Regions from separate parts of the Homo sapiens genome. Here regions 1, 3 and 4 are each linked to region 2. Evidence: promoter capture Hi-C in 16 types of primary human blood cells and fetal thymus (Javierre and others, 2016). All regions are on one chromosome and are shown on one strand. The core of a region is centred on a gene start or on the middle of the fragment in contact, and the rest is flanking DNA. Distances in the headings are between cores, read along the strand shown.

What was found. The method cuts DNA at HindIII sites, captures the fragments that hold promoters and counts their contacts. A CHiCAGO score of 5 or more calls a contact.
Region 1: the fragment with the promoter of IL17RA here is called in contact with the fragment with the promoter of PEX26 in region 2 in 4 of 17 cell types (fetal thymus, total CD8 T cells, monocytes and 1 more); the score reaches 7.9 in fetal thymus.
Region 3: a contact is called between a fragment that was not itself captured here and the fragment with the promoter of PEX26 in region 2, in 3 of 17 cell types (megakaryocytes, M2 macrophages and endothelial precursors). The highest score is 8.3, in megakaryocytes.
Region 4: a fragment that was not itself captured here is called in contact with the fragment with the promoter of PEX26 in region 2 in 2 of 17 cell types (total CD8 T cells and fetal thymus); the score reaches 6.3 in total CD8 T cells.

Annotation. Positions count from the first base shown.
Region 1 is chr22:17,083,612-17,086,330 of GRCh38, reverse strand. It overlaps IL17RA (interleukin 17 receptor A), which reads right to left and starts at 1,331. Exons shown (of 13, transcript NM_014339.7): 1 at 1,102-1,331. The coding sequence starts at 1,239. RefSeq lists silencers at 549-798, 839-938, 1,189-1,308, 1,329-1,548 and an enhancer at 2,102-2,271. The HindIII fragment of the contact is 13,521 bases long and covers 1-2,719 here.
Region 2 is chr22:18,076,539-18,079,408 of GRCh38, reverse strand. PEX26 (peroxisomal biogenesis factor 26) reads right to left here and starts at 1,419. Exons shown (of 5, transcript NM_001127649.3): 1 at 803-1,419. The coding sequence starts at 1,032. LOC105372853 (a long non-coding RNA gene) reads right to left here. Exons shown (of 6, transcript XR_001755424.2): 6 at 1,513-1,751. RefSeq lists enhancers at 596-645, 1,126-1,355, 1,686-1,745 and a silencer at 1,006-1,055. The HindIII fragment of the contact is 13,258 bases long and covers 1-2,540 here.
Region 3 is chr22:17,554,423-17,557,336 of GRCh38, reverse strand. CECR2 (CECR2 histone acetyl-lysine reader) reads right to left here. Exons shown (of 19, transcript NM_001290047.2): 19 at 1-2,914. Among named protein-coding and RNA genes, the nearest start is that of SLC25A18, 7.6 kb to the left of the region's middle. The HindIII fragment of the contact is 4,426 bases long and covers 1-2,914 here.
Region 4 is chr22:17,154,362-17,157,266 of GRCh38, reverse strand. The region is part of intron 1 of HDHD5 (haloacid dehalogenase like hydrolase domain containing 5); the gene reads left to right. Among named protein-coding and RNA genes, the nearest start is that of HDHD5, 3.5 kb to the left of the region's middle. The HindIII fragment of the contact is 5,617 bases long and covers 1-2,905 here.

The DNA of each region.
Region 1 (2,719 bases), core at 82-2,581, 990 kb after region 2:
CTCCATAAAACTACATAAGGAGAAATATCCCTTTGTTTTACATCCTCTGACTCAGATACTGAGCATTATTCCTTGGGGTCAGCGGTGGAGGTGGAGGTGGAGGTGGAGGGGAGGAAAGATCCCCTCGGGGATGCGGGGAAGAGGAGAGTATATTGTGGAGGGGCACGGCGTTTTGCTCTTTTTTTGTTTTTTTCCTTAAGATGGTCCTGGCTCACAGAAAGGCCACTACCCGGCAGGCGGGTGGGTCACTTCCTGTGGGCGCAGCGGGGCTACGACTTGACAGCTACAAACGTTCGACCCTCCGACTGCGCTCTCACCGGGTTCCCAGACCCAGGTGGTGGTAGTCGGGGGTGGGAGTGGCGGGAAGGGCGCCGTCTTAAGAACCATCTGCCCATCCTCAGGGCTTCGCGCCTCTGGGGAGGTGGCCCTCAGCCGCCCTCGGCAGAGCTCTCCCCGAAACATGGTGCCGCGTCTCAGCGCTCCGGCCCCCGCGTGGCTCTACGACAGCGGGGTCCCTCTGGGGGCCGCGGGTGAGGGACTCCACCTTCCGCACGGACGACGTGGGCTCGCCCGGCTCCGTCGGCGGCATGAAGGGCACGGCTTGAGGGAAGCTCCCGAGGGCGCGATGGGCCTCCCGAGGGCCGACCGTGCCCCGCCGGGGTACGTGAGGGGCGCAAGGCGTGGAGCTGGGTCCAGACCCGTCCTGGCTCCTCCCCGGGCCCCTTCTCCACAGCCCCTTTCTATCAGCCCTGGCCGCCCCTCCGGCCTGGCCCAGCGCCGCGCCCTCCTTCCCCGAACTCCGCGGCCCGGGCGGAGGTGTCACTCCCGCCTCCAGTCACGACGGCGGGCCAGGTTGTGCAACACGCGCCGCGCGATGTGCCACCCACCCCCCCCGTATTCCACACCGCAACTCCCACCGCTCCGAGGGTCCTCCCCAGGCGCCGCGATATCTGTGCCCAAGGCTCTGAGCCCCTCTAAGCCCGCGGCGCGGACTTCCTGCCTCCCCAGCCCGGGCGCGTAGTCCCGACCGTCCGGCCCTCCGCGACCTTGCCCCGCGTCCGCAGCATCCTGGCGGCTACCGCTCCCCACGTCGAGTCTCACCGGCTGGGAGCAGACCAGCGCCCGGTGGTCCAGGAGTCGCAGGGAGGCGCCACCCGGGGCCAGCACGCCCAGGAGCAGCAGGAGCAGCCCCAGCAGGGGCCCCGGGACAGCGGACGGCGGGCTGCGTGCGGCCCCCATGGCCCGGCTGGCGTCGCGGAGGGCTCGGCCCCGGCTGGGGACGCAGCGAACGAACGTTCTGAGGCTTTCTTTTCCGCGGTGGAGTTCGAGTCGGCTCCACTTTGCTCGCTTCCGGCTTCCAGCCCGGGCCCAGGGGCGGGCCGGGCCGAGGGGAGGAGTTTAGTCTGGGACGGGGAGGGGTTTAGGGTGAGACAGGGCCCTCCCCCCGTTCCTCCTTGCGCCCCTCCTCTCGGCCCTACGCTCAGTCCTCCGGGCGTCCCTACCCAGTCCTTCCGGCGTCCCTCCCCGGCCCTCCTCCGCCCGCGCGCCCCAGGTGCGCTCCTCCCGCTGCTCCTGGGCCTGGCCCGTCGCGCCTCCAGTTGCACCCGCGTCGGGCTAGCGTCAACTCCAGCTGGAGCCTCGCCTGCCCCACATGCACCCTCCACCCTGGCCGTGCCGCAGCAACTGTCGATTTTAATCCTCCGCCCCCACTCACTTGATTCTTGGCCCTGTTCAGACTTCTTGCTTCTCTTGTGGGTCACTGGACGTGAAATCCCAACTTGGGATTTCAGGAAGTCCGTTTTCTTAGTCTCTGTCCCTTTTATTTTTGTTTTTTATTTTACTTTATTTTTAGACAGGGTCTCCCTCTGTCTCCCAGGCTGGAGTGCAGTGGTGCAACCGCAGCTCACTGCAGCTTCGGCCTCCCGGGCTCAAGCGATCCTCCTGCCTCTGCCTCCTGAGTAGATGGAAGCGCGGGCCATATCCCATTTTATTGTCCCCACCCCTTTGCCTGGTTCTGCTCGCTCTGCTTTCCTTGGCTTTGCTTTCTCTTTCTCAAGACAAGGACAGCTCCGGGCTCCAGGGAGGATGGGACAGCAGTCACTTCCAGCCTCCTGGCTCGGACTCGGGGACACTTGAGTTCCTGGAGGGCAGGCAACTTACCTGGTCTGTGAGACTGTGTCCCAGCCGCACCTAAGAGAGTCGTTACTTCCCAGAGGCTCACTCCACGGCCGCGGAAGCTGTCGCCAGCGAATTACACATTTCATGAGTCTCCTTCTTAGCACGCGTGCAGCCTGCGTCCTCTCCTCTCCGGACCCTGGAGGACCCTCCCAAGCCGGCCCGCGCTGCCTCTATCCTAGGTTCCTGCTTCGAGCCCGTCCTGCCCTAGTGCATCCACACGCTCCTGCCCATTCGCCTCTCCTCTCTTCCTCCCAAGACCACCACCGTCCGCTTTTCCTTGCCTATCAAGTGCGCCTCTGCCTGGCCTTGACACGCACGGAGTCTACACTCAAGTGGCTTTTCCCTGTATTTTCCACTGCCCTCGAGAGGTGGGTTTTTTCGCTGCCCGAAGCACCCGCTGACCCCCAGCGACATCTCTATGAGCCCCGCCCGCAGACACGACCCAGCTGAATGAAGCCTGAAGCTCAGTGGCCTTCAAATTGTCTGTTTCTAAAAGAATTTTGGAAAACTGCATCCTCTCATGCATTTTAAAGATGACATC
Region 2 (2,870 bases), core at 170-2,669:
CATTCACTGAAATGAGCTCCCACCCAGTCCCCTAAAACACAGCCAGGGCTCTCCAGATCATCCTTCTTTGTGGTCAACTTTAGCTATTCTACCTACCACCTCCCTAGCGTGGCCTAACCCAAGTTTACAATGCAAAGAAATGACTCCCTCACCTGCCAGACGAGGCTGGTGGCATTAGAAAGAGCAATGCAAGCCCAAGGTTTTTTTCTCCGGATTCTTTTCTTTTTCTTCTTTTTGGTAGAGAAGAGGGCTCATTATGTTACCCAGGCTGGTCTCGAACTCCTGGGCTCAAGCAATCCTCCTGCCTCGGCCTCCCAAAGTGCTGGGATTACAGGCGTAAGCCCCAGCTCCCGGCCCTGAATTAATTCTTTAATCCAGTCCTCTAATTGGACCAGAACGCTGCTCCTGCCATGACCCCCATTCCCCATCATCAGCCAAGGTCAGGAATAAACAACCTTGGGCGGGGCGGGGAGGGCGGAGGTACCTGGGAGAGGACTTTTACCACCTGCTTACTGACAGAACTTAGCACTTAATACACATTCAGCCTTCCCATCATGTCATTGTACCTTGGAACAAGGAGCAAATAATTGGCTGTGGGATCCCCACTAAGTTTTTGTTACACGACTTCCCTTCTCTGTAGAATGGGCACACGATGAGCGACCACCCTCTCGGAGACAAACCACTGATGAAAGCGAGGTGTAAAGCTCCTTGTGGGCAATCTGGGAAGGACAGAACTCCTGAGACCTTGAGCCCCACCACAAGAGCGCCCGGAAATCGGTTCATTTCCGAGCCCAGCACGTACGTGCCCGCGGGTTCCTCTGCCACGGCGTGGTTGGCCAGACTCTGCCAGGCCCGCTCGCAGGTCTCCAGCGCCGCCCGGAAGTCCAGGTGCACCACCAGGAGGTCGGCCGCCTCCTCCAGAAGGTCCACGGCCGGCGCCCGGGCCGGGACCGCGCGCACCGGCTCGCTGCTGCGCAGGGGTCCCCCGAGCCCCCTGAGGGGGGCTGCAGAGGTCGAAGAATCGCTCTTCATAACGAGTCCGGGTCCAAGGCCCAGGTCCTCAGACGTCGGAGTGACCGCCTCCCCAGAGGCTCCGGGATATCCCGAGTTGGCCTGGGCGAAGAGGGAGAGTCCTCATCTCTTTGCCCACACCCCTTCCCGAGGTCGATTCCCCGAGAAGGAAAAGGAAGGGGCCTATCTGAGGCAAAAGCTGGGCTCGCCTGGAGGCTGGGGAAGCAGTTTACACGTCAGATTTGCAGGATTCTTGCATCCCTGGAATACCTGGCCCTAGCTTCTCCGGCCCCGCGACACGTGCAGGAACTGCCTCAGCTCCGGGCTCCTGGTTACGATCAAAGACTCACCTCGCCTCCCGGCAGCGGGCGCGGACATCTTTGCGCTCGCCCAGCCCCGCAGCCGCGCGGCGTCCCGGCGGCGCGGAGTACTCTAGGAGTTGTAGTTCCTCAGCTCTCGGCCCATCGCCTTCTGTAATGGAAGTAGGAGGCAGAGCGCGGACTACAACCCCCAGCACGCCGCGCCCCGGAAGCCGCCCCTGTGCCGTGAGAAAACAAACTGGTGCTACAGCTTCGGGGTGCGGAAGTCAAAACGAAGCAAAACCGAAGCTGTCTTGTGAAATGGAGGGGTCCTCACTAACCAGTTCCAGCGGAGGCTAACGGAAGAAGTGCCAGCAATGGATGTGCAGCTACATGCACGCTTTTAATTCAGAGCTTCTGCGACGGTGGCGATCAGGGGATCTGTAATGTAATGTAATGTCAAGGCTGACGCAGAGCTGATCAAACATTTTGGCAACCTTAGTCTTGAATTGATTCACACTTTCTCCGCGTTGCCTCCGGAGTTTGCTGTAGGGTAATGAATATTGCCTGGTGAGGATGAGGGACTTAGGGTGGAAACCTTCACAAGGACCACTGAGAATATGTTGGTCCCAAGGGCAATGTTCCAAAATGAATAGTGACCCCACCGAGGCGGGGTTGGGGGCGCTGAGCATAAGGGCCTCATTTTTCTCACTGCTCTCTGCCCCATCCTGAATTTGCTGTTAAAAAACAACGTTAAATGCAGATACCAATTCCACTTCCCCACTGTTGTCACTTCCGATCTGTCTTTATATTTCTCCTTATCATTTATCACCATCTACATACCAATGTCTATATTTTACTTATTTTTATTGTCTATTTCCTTCCACTATGATATAAACTCACAAAGGCAGACGTTTTTGTCTCTTTTGTTCACTGTGGGAACCTCAATGCCTTGAACAGTGCCTGTCATCTATAGGTAGTCAAAAAGTATTTGTGGAATAAATGAAGTCCTGGTTTCACTTTTATCTGGTTACAGGGTCCAGACTTCTCTTTCCTCGGAGTCTGGTGGACTTGGTTCTGCCTCAGCTTCCCATGCAGACTTTTCTGCAAGAGAACGGAAATCCCAGAAGATGGATGTGTGCATGTCTGGTGACAAGGGCAGGGGATGTATGATGTGAGCAGGTGCCTGTTTAATCTAATTTCTAGGAGAGCAAAGATTCTAGGGAAGCTTTGGAGTGAATTCAAAGGGTAGAGAACTGGGGAGAAACTAAAGCCAAGAGGATCTAGTACAAATGTGGGAAGCTTGGCAAAGCCCGGGTGAAACAGAATATAATAATAAGTGTGATTTGTGGATCTGTTTAAAATTATTATTATAGTTACAATTTACCAAATACTCTGTTCCCAGTACTTTACTATAAAGTGCATTATGTACGGTATGGTTTTGTTTTTCACAATGTCCTTATTTTACATTGTGTAACTTGCTCATGGAATGACTGTGTATCCCCTGAATAGCAAACATACTTAGTTCTGTCCCTGCAGAGCAGAGTAGAGCTCAATACA
Region 3 (2,914 bases), core at 231-2,730, 520 kb after region 2:
CCTCTACTAAAAATACAAAAATTAGCTGGGAGTGGTGGTGCGCGCTTGTAGTCCCAGCTACTTGGGAGGCCGAGGCAGACGAATCCCTTGAACCTGGGAGGTGGAGGTTGCAGTGAGCCGAGATCGTGCCATTGCACTCCAGTCTGGGGGACAAGAGCAAGATTTCGTCTCAAAAAAAAAAAAAAAAAAAAGAAAAGAAAAAAAACGGGATGCAGTAACATTCACCCAAACACTACTGTCCCAAGGGGAAAGTGCGTGAGGCTTGGTGTCCTATGGCTGCACGGCAGAGTCCAACCCAAAAAAGAAATAGGGAGCCCAGCTTTTTCTCACGCAGCAAATGGCAATCACATTCTTTGTGCTATGCAGTGATGTGAGTCCACGAATAAAAGCCTCTGCATTCTCAACCGAAATAAGAAGTATCCTTACTGAAGCTAGTGTCCGGAGAGTCACTGGTGGACACACCACACCCCAGGAGCCCCCGGATTGGGCAGTACATGGCTCACTAATATATGGGACTGATTTTCTGCAATGCGGGTCCATGGAGAATCACAGAGGGTGAACTGACTGACAGACAAAGAAGGGCAACAATGCTAGAAAACCTTCAGCCTTTCCTTTCTATGAAAACCAAGGTTCTCTGCAAGCAGGTTGGGGTTCTTACACTACTCAACTGTCCTTACCTTGTGACTATAGGATTAGGCCTTCCTGTGAAATTTCAAATCAGGTCTTAAGAGCAGTGTAGTATTTACAGATTTGAATGTCCATTAAAAAAAAAAATTGAACCAAGAAGTATGGATTGCAAACTTGTTTCTGACAGCTGTGGTGACTGCAACACTGGGATTTTGTGGGCCTGGGATGGCATCTGCCAGCAGTAGGAATCAGCAAAAATAATATAGTAACTATACAGCAGATAAATGGCATGGGATAATGACACCAAATGCTTAGTCACAAGAAACACTTTCAGGGAACAAGACAGAGTAAATCGACATTTAAAGCTGAGGTCTGACTGAACTGAGGGGCACAAACTGCAGGTCTTAAGGTTTTCACTAAGCCTAACGAAGAGGAGCATGAGAAGGCCTTCTGAGAGCATCTGGCCCGGGCTCAGTGAGAAGATACGAACTGTTGATGAGCAGCTCGTGTGTACGGCCAGGTAAACTAAACCAACCTGATGAAGGCTGGTGATGAAGGAGAGGCGGAGAGGTGGGATGGAAAGTTACGTCAACAAGAATCCTACAGGGTTTGTTCTTATTTATTCTCCACATTCATTCACTGTAACAAATTTCAGCCAATAGCTCCTGCTACCTTTTAACTGAGGGGAAAAAGTAGCTGAATTAAAAACTATTTTTTAATTCTGAGGGGAAAACAAACCCAGAATCCTCCCAAGAAGCTCATCTTTTCTCTTGGGCCTTAGGGACACAAGTTTCTAACTTATTAACAACTCTACTAAAGGTGAGCCATGAGTGTTAAATCAAAGAGATGCAATGGTATTTCCCATTCTCCACGATCTCAGCTATCCCCATCCTCCTGGGGACCACTGAGAGCCGGCACGCTGACAAGGTGACAGTGACCCACAGGGTGAAATGTCCTTCTAGCTTGAGAGCAAACCTTTTCAGGATACCTTACACACTACTTCCTAAATATAACATATCACATAACCATCATTTTCCTAATGGAGAAGATGGCAAATGCATTTGCATCTGCTTTAAGACATTGCATCTGCTTAAGACACTTGGAAAGAGAAGTGCTAGAGGAGGAAGAAAAGGTGAGAAGAAGATCCTGCTTGGGGATGGGTGGGCTAGGGGTTCACAGCAGCTCACGCTCCTGTGGATTCCTGCAACCTTGCAGCTCCAGACAGCTTATAGCAGATCTGCACTTCAAAGACCAGTGAAAGCTCAGGACACTCCCTGGACAATGGACGAAGCACTAGTACCTATAAGGCATGGACACATTCCCACACAGGACGCAGGAAGGCTGACAATTCTGCTGCTGCTGATGTTCTTGTTCACAGTGTTATAATACAGTAGTTCTATTTCCTATTGCTCTTCCTTAATATTTTCTGTCGAAAACCAAGAAGGGAGATTAAGGATAAAGGGATTTACTGACTTTTCCTGTATCGTTCACAGCATCGCTCTAGCAACAGCTGATTGGGGCGGTCACTGGGAGAGAGAGGAGACAGGATTACCTGGAAGAGTGTGCACACAACTGCTCAAGGACCACGAGGGCAGAAGGAAAGGGGGCAATGGCCCAACTGCTGCTTACAGCCACTCCCACCCAGGCCCCTGGGGTAGTCATGGGGAGAGGCCCACAGTGTCAGTGCTCCTGTTAAGGAGAAGTGAGAGGCCTCTGATTCAAACCAGCATTACCAGGAAAAGAGAAAGGCTGTCAGTGGCCAAATTCTCTGGGCCTAGACCAGGTCTAACCAGCTCCAAACTAGCTTTTTACCTCCTCCCTGCTTCTGCACAAACACAGAAACTGAAGTAGTAATGCCCCATGTTAGCGGATACTAGCTAAAGGGCAGACCCATCCACAATCCTTCTGTCCTCTTCACTCTTCTAAACCAGGTTATGCCAGTGATAGGTTTCTAACAAGAATTAGGATCCAGTGAGAACACAGGCTCAAAACTCAATCCACTTGCAAATACATCAAATTTAAAATTAAAACCTCTCTGAGAGAAAATCTGTATTTTTGTGCATTATACCTTAGAGGCACCTGTGTTCCCTACTCAACTCTCAAATCTGCCTGAGCCCTAGGCAGCAGCACCAGGTTCAGCATTTGCGTACGGATATGAACTTCCATCATCCTGGAACTGGTGTCTTGGCTTTCATTTCTCTGTATCATGGATGCTTCCGATTAGCTTCCTTTTCCACGGACAGCATATGTTTAGCAAACTGTAAACACGACAGTTCCATGCTTCACT
Region 4 (2,905 bases), core at 304-2,803, 920 kb after region 2:
TTAACCTTAGTTTAACTTTCTTGCTTTACCAAGTTTTTAATTTTTAAAATTTTTTACTCTTTTGTAATAGCACTTAGTTTAAAACACAACACATTGTACAGCTGTACTAAATATATCTTCATTTATATCATTGTTCCATAGCTTTTTTCTTTTGTGTGTGTGTGTGTGTGTGTGTGTGTGTATGTGTGTGAGACGGTGTCTAGCTCTGTTGCCCGGGCTGGAGTGCAGTGGCGCCATCTCGGTCCACTGCAACCTCTGCCTCCCAGGTTCAAGTGATTCGCCTGCCTCAGCCTCCCAAGTACGTGGGATTACAGGCGCCTGCCACCACGCCCAGCTAATTTTTGTATTTTTAGTAGAGACGGGGTTTCACTGTGTTGGCCAGGCTGGTCTCGAACTCCTGACCTCATGATCCGCCTGCCTTGGTTTCCCAAAGTATTGGGATTAGAAGCATGAGCCACCGTGCCCAGCCAGCTTTTTTTTTTTTTTTGAGACGGAGTCTCGCTCGCTCTGTTGCCCAGGCTGGAGTGGAGTGGCGTGGTCTCGGCTCACTGCAAGCTCTGCCTCCTGGGTTCACATCATTCTCCTGCCTCAGCCTCCGGAGTAACTGGGAGTATAGGTGCCTGCCACCACGCCTGGCTAATTTTTTGGATTTTTAGTAGAGATGGGGTTTCACTGTGTTAGCCAAGATGGTCTCGATCTCCTAACCTCGTGATCTGCCCTCCTTGGCCTTGCAACATGCTGGGATTACAGGCAGCTTTTTTCTATTAAAAAAAATTACAGGTGTGCACCACCACGCCCGGCTAATTTTTTGTATCTTTGGTAGAGATGGGGTTTCACCATGTTGGCCAGACTGGTCTCGAACTCCTGACCTCATGATACGCCCGCCTTGGCCTCCCAGAGTGCTGGGATTACAGGCGTGAGCCACAGTGCCCTACCTTAAAAAAAATTTTTTTTTTTAACTTTTGTTAAAAATGAAGACACAAACACCTACTAGCCCAGGCCTACATAAGGTCGGGTCAGGTAATTGATATCACTGTCTTCTGCCTTCACACCATGTCCCATTAGAAGGTCTTTAGGGGGCAGTCATATGCATGGAACTGTCATCTGCGATAACAGTGCTTTCTTCTGGATATCTTCTGAAGGACCTCTCTGAGGCTCTTGAGGTGTCACTCTTATCAGAAATATGTCCATTGTGGTTTGCTTGGTTTCTTTTTTTTTGTCATAGGTTTGCTTGTAAACAGATAATGTACCATAAACATTCTTCTCTAGTAATGAAAACCTTTTGGCGTTGGAGTTCATGTTTCAGACTTTTTAAGGAACTTGAGGTCTGTAAAAGCTGCTGAACCCTTCACTGTGAATTTTCTTGGATGTTCTTTTCTTTCTGTGGCTACCTTTTCTCTTGCCTCTTCTTCAGCTATGAGTTCCTGTTCCATTATAATCTTAAGGGACCATTGTATATGCAGTGTGTCATTGACTGAAACATCGTTATGGTGCGTGACTGTATTACCATCTTGCATTAGTGTGGTACATTTGTTATAATTGATGTACACCTTCACTTTTTATGGTACTGGGTGCCTGGTTCTCTGTGTACATCCTGAAGGTTGGGGAGGGGTTGGAGTGATGGGTGAGGGAGCCTTATGGATATTGCTCAATTTTCCTGAAAACTTTGCTGTTCTAAGTAGCAGGGGCTATGGATTCTTATTTTTAAGAAAGCAGATCTTGGGCCGGGCGCGGTGGGTCATGCCTGTAATCCCAGCACTTTGGGAGGCCGCGACGGGCGGATCACGAGGTCAGGAGTTTGAGACCAGCCTGGCCAATATGGTGAAACCCCGTCTCTACTAAAAATATAAAAAATAAGCCAGGTGTGTTGGCGCGCGTCTGTAGTCCCAGCTACTTGGGAGGCTGAGGCAGGAGAATCACTTGAACCCAGGAGGCAGAGGTTGTAGTGAGTCGAGATTGCACCACTGCACTCCAGCCTGGGTGACAGTGAGACTCCGTCTCAAAAAAAACCAACCAAACAAAAAAAAAAAAAAAAGGAAAGCAAATCTTGTGACTGTTTAGGCAATGACCGTTAAAACTATGTATGGTAAATTTTGCAACCATTGTACAAATGAGCTGTTTTTTAACTATGTAAGTTTTCAAAAATTCAAAAATGGGGAATAATATGAACCCCTGTGCCCATCTCCCAGATTGAGCAATGATTAACATTTTTCAACACCTGCTTTGCTTATCTCCCTCCTCCTTTTTTTGTGGCTCTAAGATTTTAAAGTAAATCTCTGATTTCTTGTCATTTCAAACCTAAATTCTTCTGTGTGTACCTCTAAGAAAAATAAGGACATTCTGGCTGGGTGCCATGGCTCACACCTGTAATCTGAGCACTTTGGGAGTTGGAAGGATTACTTGAGCCCAGGAGTTCCAGACCAGCCTGGGCAACATAGGGAGACCCTGTCTCTACAAAAGAAAAAAAAAAAAAAATTAGCCAGGCATGTGGTGGCACATACTTGTAGTCCCAGCTACTTGGGAAGCTGAAGCAGGAGGATCCTTTGAGCTCAGGAGGTTGAGGTTGCAGTGAGCTGAGATGACACTAGTGCACCCAGCCTTGGTGACAGAGTGCGACCCTGTCTTGTCTCAACCAAAAAAAAAAAAAAAAGAAAATAAGGACATTCTGAACATAACCACGATGCCAGTATCATACCTAACAACATTAGTAATTCCTTAATATCACTTAAAATCTAGGCCTTTTAAAAATTTATTTATTTATTTTTTGTTTTTATTTATTTATTTTTTGAGATGGAGTTTCCCTCTTGTTGCCCAGGCTGGAGTGCAACGATGTGATCTTGGCTTACTGCAAACACCATCTCCCGAGTTCAAGCAATTCTGCCTCAGCCTTCCGAGTAGCTGGGAT